Linked DNA regions of Homo sapiens: region 1 is linked to region 2. Evidence: promoter capture Hi-C in 16 types of primary human blood cells and fetal thymus (Javierre and others, 2016). All regions are on one chromosome and are shown on one strand. Each heading gives the region's core, a stretch centred on a gene start or on the middle of the fragment in contact. The rest is flanking DNA. Distances are from core to core; before and after follow the strand shown. Region 1 holds the start of MRPS9 (mitochondrial ribosomal protein S9). Region 2 holds the start of RDH14 (retinol dehydrogenase 14).

Region 1 (4,860 bases), core at 278-2,777, about 86 Mb after region 2:
GACCTGGGACTGATAGAAAGGGAATGTTCAGTTTAAGATAAAGATTGTGGAGACCAAAGTTCTCTGTAAGTCTTACAGTGGCTGCCCTTAGAGACAATGGATGACAAATGTTTCCTATTCAGATCTTAGTTAATCTCTTTAGGATTGGGAGGGTCTGGAAGAAAAAGATCTAGCTATGTTAATACAGATTCTTTACAGATGCATATCCCACCCCTCCAAGGACAGCTTTGCAGGGCCATTTCAAGATATGGCAAAGAAACATGTTTTGGGGTAAAATATTTTGATTTTCTTCCTTGTCTTGTAATGTTATGCCAGAGTCAGGTTGGAAAGTAAGTCACCATATATAGGGTTAAGTAAAACCCATCTAATAAGAATTTATGATTTGTAGGGCATGACTCCCCAAATCCTGTAGATAGGAATCTTGGGCAAGATAAAAAAATCAGAGTTTAGTCCTCCGACCTCTGCCAATTTCTCAAGATATCTTTTGCTAGTCTAAAAGCTAATAACAAAAAGAACAACAGGATGAGCATTTTATACAAGTAAATGTATTCCATTTAAAAGATTTTTCTTTATTGTGAAATTCTGCCATTCTACCTTTTTAATGCTAAAAAGTTCTGTTTCGTGAAATGATGGTGATAGTAGACGGCATTTATTTGCTTGACAACTTTGTATGATCTCAGATTTTCTGTGTGTTTTACTTTTACTGACCCTTCAAATCTAAGTGTGTGTAAACCCTTTTAAAGTGCGTTACTACATCATTTAGTATGTGTTTCGTAGAAAGCAACCTGGGAGTTAACTGCCAGGAGCACGCAAGTTTCAGAAAGCAAGACATACTCATCTCTATTCAACAATTAATCAGTTCTGATTGGGTTTCAAGTAAGGCTTAGTACCAACGCTTAGGGAGGGGCGTGCAAAAACGAGAAAGGTAGTGTTTGACCTTACCGGTTTAAGGTTTATCCTGTGCATTATACAGTTAAGAAACAACGCAGGAGAGTGCCAGGGAACCGAGAGGGGCTTGACAGTTGCTGCAGGAGAGTCTTGACTTGGAACCAGACGAACGTGGAAAGTTAGAGGAGGGGAAAACCCCTACTAGGATAAGGCAGACAGGAATCAAGGCTTGGAGCGCATCTGGGGCCCCGGCCGCCCTGCCCAGGTGGAGGAAGAGCCGGCTCGAGGTGCAGCAAGGGGGCTGGGAAGGAAGGGCTGGCTAAAGCGCCACGTGGATGTGAGTGCCAAAGAGACTAGGAGAGCGTGGAAGTGAGTCCCGAAGAGACTGAGTTCAGGACGTGAAGAGAAAGAGGCCGAGAAAAACGACCCACCAGCGATCCTTCTTGAGGTCGACACCGAGCAGGGGTGGAGTCGGATACGCCCCGCGGACACCATGCACCCAATCAGCGACGAGCTGTCGCGGATCGCGGGACACGCCCCCTGATCCAAAGGCCCGAGAAGCTCTTGCACAGGACAGCCTCTGGAACCCCGCGCCATTAGCGCCTGCGCCGTCTCTAGGCCCCGCCCCCTCACCCCTCCGGTCCTGGAGCTCCCACAGCTAACATGGCGGCGCCCTGTGTGTCCTACGGCGGAGCAGTTTCGTACCGGCTTCTTCTCTGGGGTAGGGGTAGCCTCGCCCGGAAGCAAGGCCTCTGGAAAACCGCGGCCCCTGAGTTGCAAACAAATGTCAGATCCCAGGTAAGGCCTGGGAAGACTGGAAGCGGCTTACCTCTGCCGCGCGAGGATGTGGAGCCAGCGCGGACACCTTCCCCCAGCGTCTCGCGTGCCTTCAGGCAGGGACTCTAGGATCTTAGGTATTTAGTGGAGGTCTGAGGTTGGGGGGGAGGAGGTGGGTATTGGCGTGCAGTAGCCGCTCTAGAGGTTGTTACTTGTTTTTTTGCGGGGTGCAGCGAGGGGAACTTACCTGAAGGTAGAAGTGGAGCGACCTCCTCCTTCATTTGGCTGCTGAGCTAAGTAAGGGTCGGTGCCTAGGTCTGTGTTGGGTCCAGTCCTACCCTGCCCTGCTGTCTAGGGAGGAGGAGGGCCGCGCCAGAGAAGAATGATGGGAATTGGATTCCTGCAGGTGCCTGGAAGACAATGGAGAAAGTCACGTTGTGTAGAGGACAGTGACTTTTTGAAAGTGCCTTCAATATGCGCAATTTCTGGCTTCTTAATTTTCCCGAATCCCCCTCTATGGAAAGATGCAGGCCAGAACTTGTACGTTTCGTTTAATCCAGGGAGAAGTGGGGAGTCAACAGCTGGATGGCTGATGATGCCAGTTTACTGACATGCGATCTCAGAGCAGGAAAAAGATTTGAGAGGGAAGAAACGAGTTTAGTATGGGATTATGTTTTTAGGCATCTGGGATTTCCAGTAGGTCTACGGATAGTCAAGTGTATAGCTCAGGAGGAGAACTGATTTCGAAATGCCCTGTTACCTTGTAAATGGTAACTGAGGCCTTGTAAACAAATTAAATTACCTAGGGAGAGTGTACTGAGGAGTAGGCAGAGGGACAGGGCCCTGAAGGACAAATAAGAAATAAGAGGCCTCAAGAGATTGAGAATGAGGGACCAAAGAAGCAGGAGAGAAACCAGCCAGTGTGGTGTCATGGAAAACAGGTGAATGTTTCAAGGAGGGAGAGTGATAACAAGTACCAATTATTGCAGGAAAGTCAAATACCATACTTTAAAAACTATATTTAAAAAAAAAAACATCTTTTTGTATGTTCTTTCCTTTATATTTTAATCTAGATCAACCAGTCCATTCTATCTATTCATGTGGACATTTGTTTTTTTTTTTTTTCTTACTGGAAAATGTGCTAGAAATTTTTATTTTTTCATGCATCTCTTTGAGTATATCTTTGCTACATACGCATGATTATGAGAGGGACTATATCATACAGAGTATTTTTATTGTTGACATTTAATGTATGTATTGGGGGATGGCTAACTTTCTGTCCCTCCTGGTATCTATTCTTCTATGTTTTTTCCATGTTCTTATAATCATGCATAAACATACATGCACAGGTGTACTTTACAAAAAATGGTACCATATTTGATTGCATTTTACTTTCTGCTTTTCTCTTGTACATATGCAGTATATTGTAAAGTAGAAATCCTTCAGGGTCCCCTATTATGTTTTTAAAAGCATTTTTAACTGCTGCATACTATTCCATGATAAGAATATATCAAAGTTAATGTAACAATTGATGGACATTTGCTTTGTTTCTACTTTCTTTGCACTAATAAAGTTTCAGTAAACATCTGGTCTAGTTCTTAAGTACTGGTTTAGTAAAATGGATGAAGAATGATTTCTCCTGTTACTTTAATTTTCATCTCCTTGACCATTCTTGAAACAACCTCTTTCCCCCATATGGCAAATGTTTACTGAGCACTTTACCTGAGCCAGGCACTGTGAAGTAAACAATTTAAAGTCAAACAATTACAAGATAGTATCCACCCTTAGCACTCTTAAGGGATGGTCCTGAAATGGCTGAATCCCCAGATTCCTGAATACTACTACAGCATATATTTTACCACATTAAGTACAGCTCAGATATAACTGAAACACTTAGCTGACCCCCCTTTAGATTCTTATGATTGCATACATATACCTAAAGACATTGATAAAGCTTTTTTTTTTATCGTGGTGCAGAGCTTATCTGTCTTAAACATTAACATTTTTTCACTTCTGCCTCCAACATTAATAGATAGATTTCTCTTGGTAGCCCATGTTTTATAAAATAATAAAAATTTTAATCACTTAATGAGTGACAAAACACTATACCTGGTCTTTTGTTTGTTCCACTTTTAATTTCCTTAATTACAAAATCTCTTCAGAGGTTACAGAAAACTTGAAGGGTGTGGGAGAATAGAATAATAATAAAGTGCATTTCATGCAGAGTATTTTTGCATTTTGTTTATATATGTAAATGTATACTAGGTGGTGATATAAACAGTAAATATTACAATGGGTCACAGTTTAACAAGTTTGAGAAACACTGTTACAATAAGGAAAAAGAAGCGAGTTTTGTTAAGCTATTCCTAGGTTCTCAGTTGAGACCTTCACTAGCAGACTACCTCTTGCATAGCAATCTTGTGGTATGCATGTTTTGTATTAATGCCTCAATACAATTGCAAATGTCTGAGTGTCCCAAATTTGGGGCAGAAGAGGCAGTCTTATGAATGGCCAAACTTTTCAGATTGTATATCCATGAATATCAGGGATCTATGGTGTACTGTGATATTTACAGAGGTAAATACAGAAGAGCACAGAAGTAATATGCCTGAGTCAGACTAGAGTTGTTGACCAGGTAGAGGATTGTCATGGGCAGCTTCCCAGAGGAGGCAAAGGAAAATAGCGTCTTTAGCAGCAAATAGGAGTTATATGAAAACAGAAAGCTATTCTATTCAAGGAAGATATAATAGGTGCATAAGGGTATAGAGATGTACTGAGTAATAGTGGGCTTTGTCAGCAACAATTGGTTATAGCATAGGGTTTTGGTGAGAGAATGGTGCAGAGACAGGTCTGGAAAGTTTGGCAGGAATCAGTATGATCTGTTTTGCTATGCTAAGGTAGCTGAATTTTTTACCTCTCACAAATGAAAATAGTGTTAGCATTATTATGAGCAGTTGACAGTTTCCTTCCATGCTGTACTACAAAGGTTACCCATGAATTCATAAATCCTCTATCAATATAGCTAATATAGGAATGCTAATTTGGTTTTCTATAATATTTGTGATTTTTATAATAAGGAAAAACAAAAGACCAATTGCTATTTTGAAAAATATTTCTACAAAACACTAATAGGGTGTTTTCTTAATTATTCTCTACTACTGAACACTTTCCTAGTGCTTAAATATTCAGTTTTTG
Region 2 (4,919 bases), core at 2,064-4,563:
ACAACTGTTATCGAAGCCCACCTGTCAGAGGATTAACTATTTCTCATTCTGCCCTGTCTAAGCATCTTTGGGTTTTCCAATAGTCAACTTCAAAAAGAAGGCAAGAGTTCACTCATGGGGGAAAGAAAGGAGTATTCTTTTTCACAAATCCTTTGGAAGATTTTCCTGAATTAATCATTTGTTATCCAGCATTCTTTGCTGGGCTTGTGTTATTTTAAAATTTTGTCATTTACTATTTTTTTAAATTCTACGAGATAAATGAAATAAATACCAAGAATACCAACCTGTGGGAAATCTACATTTCCATTTTTTTTTCCTTCTAATTATAGTCACTTAACTTCAGAGCCAGGCAGGAACAGAAATACTTACTTAGAAGCAAGGACAACTTAATTATCTCTTTGTGTCCTCACTTTTTAATTAGTTCTGCCTCAAGTGCCAAAGAAGCAAACCCAGCCCCATCTATATTTTAAAGAGGAACAGAAAGATCCATCTTTAATGCTTCCAAAATCTCACTGATGAGTATTATTTCTTAACCTGTGTTACACATAATTAAATACTAGCAATAAACAAAAAACCAACTCTCTAGTTCTGCAACAGCTCCCGAACTGTGGCCTACAGCATTGCAGCAAACTCTCAGGGTGTTGTGGAATATTTTAAATTTTCGAGGGAAACACAGTGATATTTGCTCAATACCTCAAAACTACTAGCTCCAGGTGGTTCACAGCTTGAACATTACATTGTGCTATATTCCTTTCAATGACATTATTTCTTTGTGGAGCTGACTTTTAAGCAGCTGTTAGCAGTTGCTGTAATAAAAAACAAGAACAATGCTAAAAATCTACCTAGAACAGGAAATGAGGGTGGAAGTGTCCAATCTGATTCCAAGGTTTCAGACACTGGTGTAATGACCAACAGAGATACATTTCCCATTAGTAGTTATGGCTGTTTAAGAACAAAATAAACATATTATTTTTTTCTTTCAATTATGTTATCTTCTCAAATAGCTACTAAGTTGTTAGGACATAACTACTTATTAGGTTGTGTCAAAGGAAAATAAATCTCAGAACCCAAAATCACTAAGTCAAAGGTTAAAGTCAAGCTGGGAACTGCCTCAGACAAACCTGCCTCCCATTTTATTCCTAAATAAGATAGCTACAAAGAAAAAGAAGCTACATATCACCCTCATAATTTGCCCACATGGGCCTCAAGATCTTTACCCTAAAACACTTCTGTTGAATTTCACCCTGGCAATGTATTCATAAATTGATAGCTCATCTTCACAAGTGCCAAACAAAAGACAGAACTCTAAAGTCATCCTTCTGCTCACCTGAGATAAATGCTTATCTGATTGCTGACTCTGCCGTATTGTTTATGTGAAAATGCAGACTCACTGAGCCAGTCTAAGACATAAGTGATTATTCCTCTATCCCTCCTGCACATGTAAATTGTATTCAGTAAAAGGCTAATCAAAGACCCAAAAGAATGCAACCTTTTGTCTCCCATCTACCTATGACCTGGAAGCCCCCACTTCGAGTTGTCCCACTTTTCCAGGAGAACCAATGTATACCTTACATATGTGATTGATGTCTCATGTCTCCCTAAAATGTATAAAACCAAGCTGTGCCCCGACCACCTTGGGCACATGTCCTCAGGACCGCCTGAGGTTCTGCCACGGGTGCATCCTTAACCTTGGCAAAATAAACTTTCTAAATAAATGAACTGGGAAATATTTCTGGCCTAAGGGCATCATGAAAAAATTACTGAGAAAATTTGGGAACCTCTTCTCTAGACTCAAGAGACTCTACGTCATATAGGCACCTTTCTTGTCCCAGCTAATTTTAAATTTCACTCTTCTGAACAAATGCCCTCTGAATGCCAGTTATCCCTGCAAGAAACTCTTCTACCTCAATCTCAACGGAGAACATCCACTTATGTGGAATTACTTACCATTTGCACAAAGAAATCCTCACACCTCACTGCCAGGCAGCAGGAGGAAAGAACAAGGGTTAAAAGCAAGTGTTCTGGAGACAGACCACAAGCAAGTTTCTTAGCCTTCCTATGCCTCAGTTTCCTCGCGTTGTAAAACAGGGATGATAATAATGCCTACTCCACAGGGTTACTGTGTAGCTTCAATGACAGTTATAGGCAAGGACACTTCATTTTCATTTAAGACAAAAAGGAAAATCTGAAATGCTTGGCACAGCTCCTGGCATACAGATCTTCAATAATGCTGGGTGTTATTTTTATTCCTGTCTCTGTATGGAGCATGACCACTGGGTTCCAAAATGTATTCTACTTGGAAATCAGGCCACAGTCCCGTTAAGGATGGTGCTGAGTTTACTGGTGGCAGCGAGCTCCTTACCCCAGCAGAAAAGGGGCAGAGGCCGGGGGAAGGAGAACTTTTTTTAAAGGACTGATATGAGGTCCTTAGCTAGCAACTTCCCCCAGTGCTCAGGGGTTCTGAAGACACAGCTTGGTGCAAATTCACTTCTGACACAGGAAAAACAATTCAGAGGCCATGGATCTACTTCGGGGCGGTCCTCACGTAACGAAATGAAACGTTCAGAAACTGGTTTATTTATTTTTCTCTTGGGCCCATTTCTTTTTCGACATCCTTAGAGGACAGAAGGCAGCCCTCCCAGTTAGTTTCTCTTTCCCTCTCAACCCTGCAGCTTCCCGGCCGCCTCAAAGTGGCTTTTTGGACTCCTCTCAGCCTCAGCGGTTCCCAAGGTGACACCCTGAACCCCAGGGCGGTCCCTCGCGGCTCAGCCCCAGCCCGCAGTCCCCTCCCACACCGTGCCCAGGCCCTCCCCACCAGCCCGGCCCCCCGAGGCCCACACCTGGAGCATTTCCTGGCAGAAGGCGCGCACCGAGCGCAGCGAGGCGAGGTCCAGCTCCCGGACTATGAGCTCGCCCACCCCGCTGACGCCAGGCTCTGGGCCGCACTCCGCGGCCTGGCGGAGCTCGCGGCGGAGCTGACCCGCCGCCTCCTCGGCGCGCGCGCGGTCCCGGCAGCCCATGATCACCCGCGCTCCCAGGCGCAGTAGCTCGGCGGCCGTGGCGCGGCCCAGGCCGCTGTTCGCCCCGGTGATCAGCACAGTCTTCCCGTGCATGAGGCCGGGGTCCCCGCCTCTGCGCAGCCGCTGGACCCTGGGCCCCACGAACCGGCGGGCCGCCAGCCACAGCGCCCCGCCCAGAGCGGCCAGTACTGCCGCCGCAGTGGCCACTGCCATCGTCAGGCCCGAGGGCCCACCGGCCCCTCCACGGGAGTTCCGCAGCCGCCGCCTTACCGGAACCCAAGAGACCACCTGTACGCGGAGAACGCTGGGGCGCGGCGGGTCGGCCCCTGACGGTGCGCGTGGGGCATGCTGGGACTTGTAGTTTCCCTCTGGGGGGGTCGCCTGATTGGTTGTGAGAGTTCAGCGCCCTGGGTCCTGCGCCCTCCGTGGAAGCTCCTCCCAGCCTAATGATGGAGGCTGGGCAACCAGCACAGTGTTCAGGGTGCTGGGGTTCATACGTATTGAAATCCCAGAGTAGTGGCGGACTTCCCCATGGGAATGTCTGATGAGTACTTTGAATCACAGATCTCTGTACAGGCCCTGTTACAAATGCCACTCCTCAGGGCATTTCGTGTGTTTTCCTTTGAGGGCTCTTGGGACTTGTAAATTCAGTTCAATTCACCTTCTGAGGAATGGGCCCTGACAAGCTGAAGTCTGAGGTAGGACTGTTTTTCATAGATGAGACAAAGAATTAAGCAACATGAATCAGTTGGAAATAGAATGGTCGAGTAGTTCTCAAACTTAAATGCACATCAGAATCACCTGGAGGACTTGGGGTGGGGGTTCGGGGTGGGGGAATGAAACAAAACGAAAACAAAAAACCAGGGCCCCAGTATTAGAGTTTCTAATTCAATAGGTACAGGATGGGGCCTGATAATTTGCACTTTTAACAAGTTTCCAGGTGCTGCTGCTGCTGCAGATCTGGGAACCACACTTTGAGAACCACTGAACAAGACATTATGTCATTGGTCCCTATTAAAAAAAAGAAAGCCATCTTCAAATGATCTTCACACTGGCAGAGGTACAGTGGGAAAAGCTTGGACTTATTGTAAATATAGGCTTCTGAGCAGGCCATTTACAAATGCCTCCCTGCCCTCTCCATAGGACTATTACACACAACGATGGAAGGCAAAGTGCTTGGCTCACTGTAAAATGCCTCATTAATATCAGGGTTAGTGTCACAGGGACCCTTCTTCAAGCTACAAACTTCATAGCTGTAGACCAAGCTACTTTTAAAGACTCATTCGTTCGTCTGCCTCTCCATCCAATATGTGCCTGGCCCTGCCTGTTCCCTGTTAGAGCCACAGAGAAATGGGACACCATTTCTGCTCTCAGGGTGCTTACTTTCTGGAACTGTGATCTCCCACTTCCCACCCTCCACCCATTGCAGGTTCTCCAGACAAGGAAAAAGAACCACAGCTTGTGTCGTTTGAGACAAACTCCCCAATAATTGTGATAATCCATCTTCCACTCCCTTACATTTGGGAAGGATGTAACATGCAACTAATAGTCAGAATACAAAGAAAAAGGGATGGATTCCAGGAGGTTTCTTATGAGTAATGAGAATGGAGCTCAGAGGTGGGAAAGAGCACTCTTACTGGGGATTATACAAGGCACCAGGAACAGGAATCATGAGAGGTGGTCCTACACCACCCTATCCCCAATTTGAAGCTGCTACTCAAACTCATTGATCCCCCAGCATATGTTTCCACTTTATTGTCCTTTCTACCCATCCACATCTTGCCCATCCATCAAAATCACAGGCTACCTCAAGTCTTTCTTTCCTGACCACTTCCAGCCTATAAAGATCTCTGCTCCCTTCATGTGTGACCCTCAGGGTCATGTGTGACCCTCACTGGC

Evidence for each region. Contacts are between HindIII fragments. The CHiCAGO score rates a contact against its expected background, and 5 or more counts as called.
Region 1: the fragment with the promoter of MRPS9 here is called in contact with the fragment with the promoter of RDH14 in region 2 in 1 of 17 cell types (total CD4 T cells); the score reaches 5.4 in total CD4 T cells.

The regions. Positions count from the first base shown.
Region 1 is chr2:105,036,542-105,041,401 of GRCh38, forward strand. It overlaps MRPS9 (mitochondrial ribosomal protein S9), which reads left to right and starts at 1,528. Exons shown (of 11, transcript NM_182640.3): 1 at 1,528-1,686. The coding sequence starts at 1,552. MRPS9-AS2 (MRPS9 antisense RNA 2) reads right to left here and starts at 1,955. Exons shown (of 3, transcript NR_110603.1): 1 at 1,913-1,955. RefSeq lists enhancers at 935-1,144, 1,165-1,214, 1,265-1,314, 1,485-1,814, 1,568-2,510. The HindIII fragment of the contact is 6,591 bases long and covers 1-3,617 here.
Region 2 is chr2:18,557,340-18,562,258 of GRCh38, forward strand. RDH14 (retinol dehydrogenase 14) reads right to left here and starts at 3,314. Exons shown (of 2, transcript NM_020905.4): 1 at 2,841-3,314. The coding sequence starts at 3,233. The region is part of intron 10 of NT5C1B-RDH14 (NT5C1B-RDH14 readthrough); the gene reads right to left. LOC105373456 (a long non-coding RNA gene) reads left to right here and starts at 2,837. Exons shown (of 6, transcript XR_007086234.1): 1 at 2,837-3,352. RefSeq lists enhancers at 2,474-2,523, 3,334-3,383, 3,444-3,493, 3,504-3,723 and a silencer at 2,734-3,243. The HindIII fragment of the contact is 4,929 bases long and covers 1-4,093 here.